Linked DNA regions of Homo sapiens: regions 1 and 3 are each linked to region 2. The links are contacts of gene promoters, found by promoter capture Hi-C in human tissues and cell types (Jung and others, 2019). All regions are on one chromosome and are shown on one strand. Each heading gives the region's core, a stretch centred on a gene start or on the middle of the fragment in contact. The rest is flanking DNA. Distances are from core to core; before and after follow the strand shown. Region 1 has its middle 72 kb from the start of GP2. Region 2 holds the start of KNOP1 (lysine rich nucleolar protein 1). Region 3 holds the start of LOC102723396 (a long non-coding RNA gene).

Region 1 (3,223 bases), core at 1-2,500, 540 kb after region 2:
TCATTTGTCTTTTGGAGATGCTTACTTGAGGAGATATATCAGTCAGGACTCTTTGGGAAATAAAACAATCGCTTTTCAAACAGGGTGAAGCAGAAAGGGAGAATTTATTGGCCCCTGTAAATGAAAGGTCCAAGTTTTCCCTTCAGGCCTGCCTAGATTCAGGGATCTAAATAATGTCATTTAGATGTAAATCTAATCCTTCCCTTCCTCTCTGGGATATGATTTTCTTCTGTGTTGCTTTATTCTGGTGGGCCTCTGCAGATCCAAATTTATAATCTCTCAGTTTAGCAACCTCAATCAGAAGAAAAGCATTTCTTGCCCAGCATTTCAATCAAAAGCCTCAAGTCTGAAACTTATTGGTCCAATATGGGTTACGTGCCCAGATCTGAAACTTGAGGATGTCGTGGAGATGTAGTATTGTCCTTGGCCATATCTGGGGAAAGTGGATGTCAGCTAAAAGTGAACCTCTCCTCTTTATACCTCCCTCCACCCCCAAACCATCTAAAAGTGGTAGAACCATGGTTCTTCAAGGAAAAAAAATAAAGAACTATTTATTGCCAGGAAGGGAAAGAGGTACCAGTAATGCAAACAAGCAAACAAACCAACAAAAACAAACAAAAAACTGGTATCTAAACAAAAAGCAATAATAATTGCTAGTATTACTCTAAATCCAATTGAAATGATTATATTAGACTTCACAGGTGTTATTTCACTAAATACTCAGAATAGGTGAATGAAATAGACATAAATTGTGCCCATTTTATAGATGGGGAAATTGAGGCTAAGTGAAATGAAATTTTTTTCAAGGTCACATGGATTTATATCCGTATCAGTCTGACCTCAGGGCTTGTGTTCCTCCAGAGCACACCTCCTCTCTTGCCAATGACTTACATCTTCTATCTTTCTGTGCCTCAGTGTCCTCACTTGTAAAATGGACATCATAGTACCTTTCTCATTGGGTTATTGTGAGTGTTAGATGGTAAGTGCTAAATAAACATTAGCTATTCCTATTGGTGGTGGCTGGGCTCCTGAATGTGCCCCCCTGGGAAGCTATTCAGGGAAGCCAGTCTGATAAAGCACCCACAATTGTGTCTCACCCTGGTGGTTCCCAAGAGGAATGGGGGATGACTCTTGCAGGCAGATTCCAGGTCTTCTTGTCCTATGCAGGGCTTCCATTATTAAAGGATTCTGTGGAAGCGATCAGCTCATGGAATTCTGAGAACTCCACCTCTCTGTTCTAAAAGACCCATTGTCCAACTCAGAGGTGGGGCCACTTGGACACTAAGGAATGCCAAAGAGGCAAGCAGGCCCCCAGTTATCCAGGGAAGTACTGGATTCCATTCCTATTCTCCCAGGCTTCCTTTTCCTTCTTCCTCCTCCTTGCCCACCAGGGAGGCAGCTGGCTGTGCTAGAGATTGGCATATTCTCTTTGCATCTGGCAAGCTGAAACAGCACACTGATGATGGCCTGCAAATGTGAAATAGATGGGAACTGTTTTGCACTTCAATGGAATAACAGGTGTTATTTCTCCTTGGACGGTGGAGGATGGAGCTGACATTTCTCTTCTTTTGGGATGTAGGCGAGGTGCCTGTGACATTGGTGATTTCTGGGCACTGTTGTGTCCCTACTGTTTGCTTTGCACTTTATTTATGACATCTCATCTAATCCTCTCTACACACAACTCGCTGGGAAAGATATGGTTACCCCTAAGTTTATAGATGAAGAACTCAAGGTGCTGCAGAGAGGTGATATATCAGAGCAGGGACTTCAGCACAGATGCATCTGAGGCCGAGAACTTAGTGTTTCCCATCTCTCCACCTGGGCTTTGAGAAGCCATCCTGAAAGAGAGGACATTTGGCTTTCTCAGAGCCTCAGCTCTGGAACTAGACCAGAGGTTGGCAAACTCTATCTGTAATTGTCCAGATAGTAAATATTTTAGGTTTTGTGGGCCATAGGGTCTCTATTCCAACTACTCAACTCTGCTGATGCAGCATGAAAGTAGCCATAGATGTTAAGTCAACAAATGGTCATGGCAGTGTTTCAATAAACTTCATTTACAAAAACAGTCAGCCGCTGATATGCAATAATTAGTTGATCCTTGAAGTAAATCAGGGATCCCTGAGTTTGACTCCTGCCTTCTCCCATTACCAGCTATGTGACCTTATTTAACTCCCCTGGTGCTCAGTTTTCTTATCTGTAAAATGGGAATCATAATACCTCATAATACTCATCATAATTGTAATATCCCATGATATGATTGTGAGAATTAAATGATTTAATGCTTGAAGAGTCAGTGCTTATAACAGTGTCTGCGACAGTGCCAGTTGGCATGATGACGAGCATAATCAGCATCATTTCCAGCATCATTGAAAGGGCCTGGAGCTGTAAGATGGGGATAATGGTAAAACCTACTTCACGGAGTTGTTGTGAGAAAGAAGTGAGAAAACGTATGCAAAATGCCAACCTGCCAACCCCCACAGGTGACTCCCCACTCTTATCAGCTTGCCTCTGCTAAGTACTTCTACAAGCCTCCTCCTGGTAAAAAGACGACGAGAAAAGACCCAGTCATACGCCCTTACGCGGCCCAAGTTTTCAGTTGGACAGTCACTGAGCAGAAATTCAGGACTGCATAGAAGAGATGCCTTAAGCCTCAAGTTCAGGAAAGGCAGTCTCCTGGTGGTTTGGAGGGGCTTCCTATAGGAGTTGGGCTTAGGGGCCTCAGAGGGTACTGCAGTGACCATTTCCTATGGAGACAGTCACCACTAACTGAGTCTGATTACAACAGACAGGGAGGAAGCTTTGCCAGCCAGCACTGCCCTACCCCAGAAGGAACCATCCCTACTCCTTACTACAAATCCTCTCCTGGTTTTCCAGCAGATGACATATCCCCTGTGTGACATACCCCCACCCCAGCATCCACTCGCTCCTCCCTTGCCCACCCCTGCTTTCAGCAGCTTCCGCTCCCTGACCCAGCCAAGAGTCTCCAAGAAGCTGGACCCACCCCCAGTACAAGGAGCAAATCTGATTGGTCTGTGCCTGTTCTCACTCCCCAATCAAAAAATGGTTCACAAGGGGCATGTGACCCCAATGTAGCCAATAGGTTGTTAAGGGAAATAATATTTTGAGGAGTTAGTTAACATCATTGTAGGTTAGAAATATTGTAGGTACACCCAGGTGTATGGCTTCCTACTAGCCAGCCTCCTCGGAGTTTGATGGAAGAAGG
Region 2 (2,947 bases), core at 128-2,627:
TAATTTTTTGTGAGACAAGGTCTGGCTCTGTTGCCCAGGCTGGAGTGCAGTGGCATCATCTCGGCTCACTGCAACCTCCACCTCCCGGGTTCAAGCAATTTTCACGCCTCAGCCTCCCGAGTAGCCGGGATTACAGGCACATACCACCACGCCCGGCTAATTTTTGTATTTTTAGTAGGGACGGGGTTTTACTATGTTGGCCAGGCTGGTCTCCAACTACTGGCCTCAGGTGATCCGCCCGCCTCATCCTCCCAAAGTGCTGGGATTACAGGCATGAGCCACCACGCCCGGCCCTACTGTGCCTAATTTATAAACTTTCTCATAGATAGTATACACAAGAAAAAACAGTTATATTTAGGGTTCGGTACTGTCTGTGGTTTCAGGCATCCACTGGGGGTTTAGGAACGTACTGCCCGCGGATAATGGGGGAGGGGGACTATTGTATTGGCATTTAAATAAGTGGGCAGAGATAAAGGAGCTTGCAAAGAAGAAGGTGCAAACCTTGAAATAGTGTAGTCAGGAGAGCCAAGACGACTTCAGAATAGGGGAGCAGTCAAGAGAGCCAAGACGACTTCAGAATAGGGGAGCAGTCAAGAGAGCCAAGACGACTTCAGAATAGGGGAGTGGCCAAGAGATCTGGTAAGAACAAAGAATCCACCGGGAGGTTGCGGGTCAACTCTTAATCCCCTTCTCTCCCCATCTCTTGCCATTTAGAAAAGTATAGCATCCTCCTCTTTAGCCCTGCGACCAAATGCATTCACTCTTTCAAGGAGAAAGGAAAAGAACGTTACAGTGCATCTCCTGCAAACGCAAACGCTTTCTCCAAAACCGCTTTTAAATTCCAGGGACAGCCTTGTGAAGATCTTTGTGAATACCCGACCTCGCAAGCTCCAGAGACTACAATAATTCACTTGCCCTAGGTTCCAAAGCCAGCAAGTGGAAAACGGAGACTGGAATTCCGCCCACAGGACTCCAAAGCCTGTGCAGCAACACCCCACTCCCCCGGCAGGATCACCAGCAGGACGCGCGGGAGCCAGGAAGTAAGATCCGTACCTCCAAGGCTCCCATGGGCCCAAGCCTCCGCATCAACAGACTGGGAGGGATTACGTGGGGTCCCAGGGCCGGCTCTGAGGCGGGAAAACTTTCTGGAGGCGGCGGCCTCAGGCCGGAGCGGGCGCACACCGACTGGAGGGGTCGGATTCAGGGATGTGGGTGGACCGCATTTCCCCATCTTCCCCGCCGCGCACTTCCTCTGGTGCAATCTCCACACCCCGCGCCGGCCCGCCTGCAACGCGCCCTGGCACTCACCGGTGGGCGAAATTTCCCCGCCTCCACGTGAGAGCCAGCTCCGCCGTGACCCGGAAGTCCACTTCGAGTCGCCGGCCCACCCTCTCGGGTTCCGGCTTCTTCCGGGTCGCGGCCTTCCGGCGAACGCGGTTACCGTGGAAACCGCGGCCATGGCGGCACCGCGGCAAATCCCCAGCCACATAGTGCGCCTCAAGCCCAGCTGCTCTACAGACTCGTCGTTCACCCGGACGCCGGTGCCCACCGTGTCTCTCGCGTCCCGCGAGCTGCCTGTCTCGTCGTGGCAGGTCACCGAGCCGTCAAGCAAGAATCTGTGGGAGCAGATCTGCAAGGGTAGGAAACCTGGGCTGGCCGAGAGGGGCGGGACCCGGGCGGCCGGACGGGGGCCGCGTTTGGGGAGCGCCCACTGTGCGCCTGTCGGCTGACGGGCGGGGCCGCCGGGCAGCGGCTCCGCGGGCCCGGGCTCCGCATTTTACGCATGGGGAAACTGAGGCTCGGAGAGGCTGGCCCGAGGTTACGCAGCGCGGACTCCAATCGCGATCCGTAGTGAGGTTAAAGGCAAGGGAACGGCGAGGGAAAGCTGAATAAAGAGAACCATGCGGTGTGGACCATTGGTTCTTAAACCTCGGTTAGTGAACCGAAAGGAATTGCTGGGGCGGGGGCCGGGGTGGGGATCTTGTTATAAACGGAGGTTCCCAGGCCCCGCCCACAGAGCTTCAAATTGGGATGCAGGGAATCTGCACTTTTTAAAAGAGCACCCCAGGTAATCCTAACGTAGGTAGTCGGTGGCCCACACGTTCAGTAACCATGGTGTGGACAAACGGGTTTTAGTCCCTTCTTGCTTCAAACCTTCCTTAACCTCCCCAGGCGGAGTTGAGCACATCTTCCTTTGTGGCTCTACTCAGTATTTGTTACTTAGGTTGGGCAAATTATTTAACTTATGACCCTGTCTGCAAAGTGGGCATAATAATGGCACCTATTTCGATGGTGTTAAGAAGATGGAACCAGATAGTCACAAAAAGTGCTTAGCAAACTGCCTGATTTTAGGAGGGCAAAAGGATTATTGGGGAAAAAAAAACACAAACTGCTCGATTTACAGAAGGAGCTACGTAAGCGCTAGTTCTTAATGAATAATGTTGGGTGGGATGTTTTCTTTTTCCTCCACTAGACCATAAGCTCCTCAAGGTCAAGGACTCAGATTTTTCATTCGTGTGGCCACCATCACTACCTAAGCTGCCTGAAACAGCGCGGTGAAACCCCGTCTCTACTGAAAATACAAAAAAAAAATTATCTGGGCGTGGTGGTGTGCGCCTATAATCTCAGCTACTTGGGAGGCTGAGGAAAGGGAATTGCTTGAACCAGGGAGGTGGCGTTGCAGTGAGCCGAGTTTGCGCCACTGCACTCCAGCCTGGGTGACAGAGCGAGACTCCATCCCCAAAAAAAAAAAAGTGTGGTTAGTTAGCATTTGAAATGTGATTAGTGCAATTGAGTAACTGAATTTCTTGTTGGACTCAAATTTTTTTTTTTTTTTTTTTTTTGAGACGGCATGTTGCTCTGTCGCCCAGGCTGGAATGCAGTGGCACTGGCTGGGCTCACTGCAACCTCCGCCTCCCGGGTTCAAGCATTCTCACACCTCAATCTC
Region 3 (2,892 bases), core at 198-2,697, 520 kb after region 2:
TGCTTACATATTTTTGCTTGGCCAGGCCAGAGAAGGGAGGGTCCTGATTAGTTTAAGTCATTTAGCTTATCCTATCCTTATCCTATTCTTGTGGGTGTAGGGATTGGTTCTAAGATGAGTGCACGGACACTTTCTGGCCAATGAAAACTGAACTCAAGTTCAACTGTTGGGGAAGAGAAGCTTTTATCTCAGTGTGATGTGGAGCTGAGAAGGTGTGAGATCTGGGGCTGTTGAAAGACAACAGTCTGTGGGAGAGTGAAACTACACACACAGGAGGGCTGGAGAGTTGTTGTTTGTCCTATCTTGATGACTTGGAAAAATTCTGGAACCAACAAGGCCAGACAGCTCTCCAATTTTTCTCTTACCTGAGTCAATGAATTCTCCTTCTGTAAAAGCCATGTCAATTTGAACTGGAGCTTTTACTTAATTACTATGAAGAGTCTAACAGATAGAGCAGAACAGAGGAGAGTATTGAAATAGCACAGTTGAGCTTTTCAAAGTAATTTCTTTCCTACTTCTTCATGTGGTCCTTGCAGCAAAGAGTCAGTGTGGCAGAGCACTGGACAGTATGCTTCCTGAGGACAGGACATGAGGATGCTTTGGTCGATGTCTTCCTCACCTGGCAGGCACTCAGTTCATAACTGTTGAGAGGATGAGTGAACTCATTTTTATGATATGAATTCAGCCTTTCTCAGGACCTCCCCACCCCTTTATCTTAAATGATTCACAAGCCATTCCTTGAATCAATCTGCCGTTTCCTGCTATTTCTGAGCTTTTGCCTGAGTTATTCCTTCCACCTAGAATGCTTTCTCTGCTTCCTCTGCCTCCCATATTCTCATCCATCCTTAAAACCCAGGATAAATGCATCTCCTTTATGAAGCTTACTTTGATTTCCACCGGTCTGATAGAATGGCTTTTCTCCCTCTCTAAACTCCTGTGGGGAAGGAGATAAAGACTCAGACAGACCTGGGTTGGAATCTCTCCGTTGTGTCACGTCCAGGCTGTGTGACCTTGGGCAAGTCATTTAACTACTCTAAGCCCAACTATATAATGTTGGGATAAAAAATACTCCCAACTTCTTATGCATATTGTGGAGAACAGATGAAATACAGAGTACAAATTTTCTGTGGGTCGTAGCACAAAGAAGATAGCAATTCTTAGAGGTACTACTGTTACCCCTGTTTCACAGGCGAGGCATTCTGTGATTAAATAACCCATGCCTAAGGTCAAAGGACTCTTCATTCACTTGTTCCTTCACAAGTCAATATTTATCGAGCCCCTACTATGTGCCAAGCACTGTGGGTGCTAGGAGACAGTGGTGAACAAGACAGATGAAATTCCTGCACTCATATTCATGAAGGAAAGTGGTTCTGACGTAAAGAGATAAGAGATATGTGTGATGAATGTTACACGGGGGAAGTTTAGGGTATTATGGGGAGGGAATATCAAGATGTTGGAACTTGGCCATAAGACTTCCCTGAGTTATGATAATTAAATTGATATGAGAAGAACATAAGCCTTCTTCACCCTGTCACATAGAAGTCAGGTTTGGCCAGGTGTGGTGGCTCATGCCTGTAATCCCAGAATTTTGGGAGGCTGAGGCAGAAGGATTGCTTGTGCCCAGGCGTTTGAGACCAGCCTGGGCAACATAGCGAGACCCCTGTCTCTACAAAAATAAAAATAAAAATGTCAGCCTAGAGGGGTGGTACACGTGTGTTGTCTTAGCTACCAGGGATGCCAAGGTGGGAGGTTCACTTGAGCCCAGAAATTTGAGGCTGCAGTGAGCTAGAATCACCCCACTGCACTCTAGCATGGAGACATCTGGGGCTTCTGGCTTGGGCAGCCTGGCACCCTCTTTGCAGATCTCCAGGGGCATGTAGCCCCCTTCCCATCAAGCTGGGGACTGGGGGAAGAGGATGATTTTCTTCATGACTCTGGCTGGTCTATCCTAGCCCTCCTTATTAGTGCCGCCAGTCATTCTATCATTCTCCTTCACGTGTCTCTCCTCTCCAGCCAGACTTCCGATGATATTTCATTGTTCTCTGAAATTACCTCCATGAAATTTTAAATAAAAATGAGAAATGGGCTCTTACAGCTTCTACAATGGCTCCATGCAATTTTTCCTTCCCCCCGCCCCGGCCCACAATCAACAAAGTAAACACAGCCCCTGCTCACGGACCAGTTTTCCCTAGAGGCTTTTGATAGAGGATGCGAGATGGAGGCTTGCACACAGGCAGCACACAGACTGTCGGCAGACAGCAGTTAAAACTCTGGGAATTTCACATTAAAATCCATATTTCTGACTTCTGAAAAAAGATCAGAAATGGCAGCACCATCCCCTCATCTTCTCACAGCAATATTTGGCTTTAGCTGAGGGGCAGCTGTCTCCTGTAGATGAGGAATGCAACCTGCCATTCACCACAGACCCCACTTCTCCCTATTGATCCCCAGCCCAGTCTGCTTAAGTCATTTTCCAAGTTTGCTTGGTCTCTGAAGGCACTCAAGCTTGCACTGAATTTTAATTTGGATTTAAAGTGGATCTGGCACATTGTAAGTGGTGGATTGAGTAGCTATTATTAATAGTAGTAATGGTAATAATATTCAAAGAGTACAGTTCCAAGGCTGGATAAACAGGATATAGGACTTTCTTGCATAGCAGTCACATAAGAATACTGATAACCAAGCATTCATAACAACACCCTCCCTCCTTTCTAATCAGCACTCCTACATTAGAACGTTTCTTAGTAAATTGCACAAAATTCCTATCCATAATAGAAACAGTGCATGTTGCAGCTAGGTGATTATTATTATTTACTATCACCCGTAATTATACATAATTTCAATAATTGCCCAAACACAGACTACATGAATAAATATTCCTTAGGAAAACAC

What was found. Contacts are between HindIII fragments. The study calls those that stand out against the background at their distance.
Region 1: a fragment that was not itself captured here is called in contact with the fragment with the promoter of KNOP1 in region 2 in 1 of the 25 tissues and cell types used here (H1 embryonic stem cells).
Region 3: a contact is called between a fragment that was not itself captured here and the fragment with the promoter of KNOP1 in region 2, in 1 of the 25 tissues and cell types used here (aorta).

What each region holds. Positions count from the first base shown.
Region 1 is chr16:20,254,398-20,257,620 of GRCh38, forward strand. No RefSeq gene overlaps it. Among named protein-coding and RNA genes, the nearest start is that of GP2, 72 kb to the right of the region's middle. The HindIII fragment of the contact is 4,828 bases long and covers 1-3,223 here.
Region 2 is chr16:19,716,850-19,719,796 of GRCh38, forward strand. KNOP1 (lysine rich nucleolar protein 1) reads right to left here and starts at 1,378. Exons shown (of 5, transcript NM_001012991.3): 1 at 1,309-1,378. IQCK (IQ motif containing K) reads left to right here and starts at 1,422. Exons shown (of 9, transcript NM_153208.3): 1 at 1,422-1,638. The coding sequence starts at 1,458. RefSeq lists an enhancer at 1,302-1,631. The HindIII fragment of the contact is 15,091 bases long and covers 1-2,947 here.
Region 3 is chr16:20,232,072-20,234,963 of GRCh38, forward strand. LOC102723396 (a long non-coding RNA gene) reads right to left here and starts at 446. Exons shown (of 3, transcript XR_429682.3): 1 at 366-446. The HindIII fragment of the contact is 3,498 bases long and covers 1-2,892 here.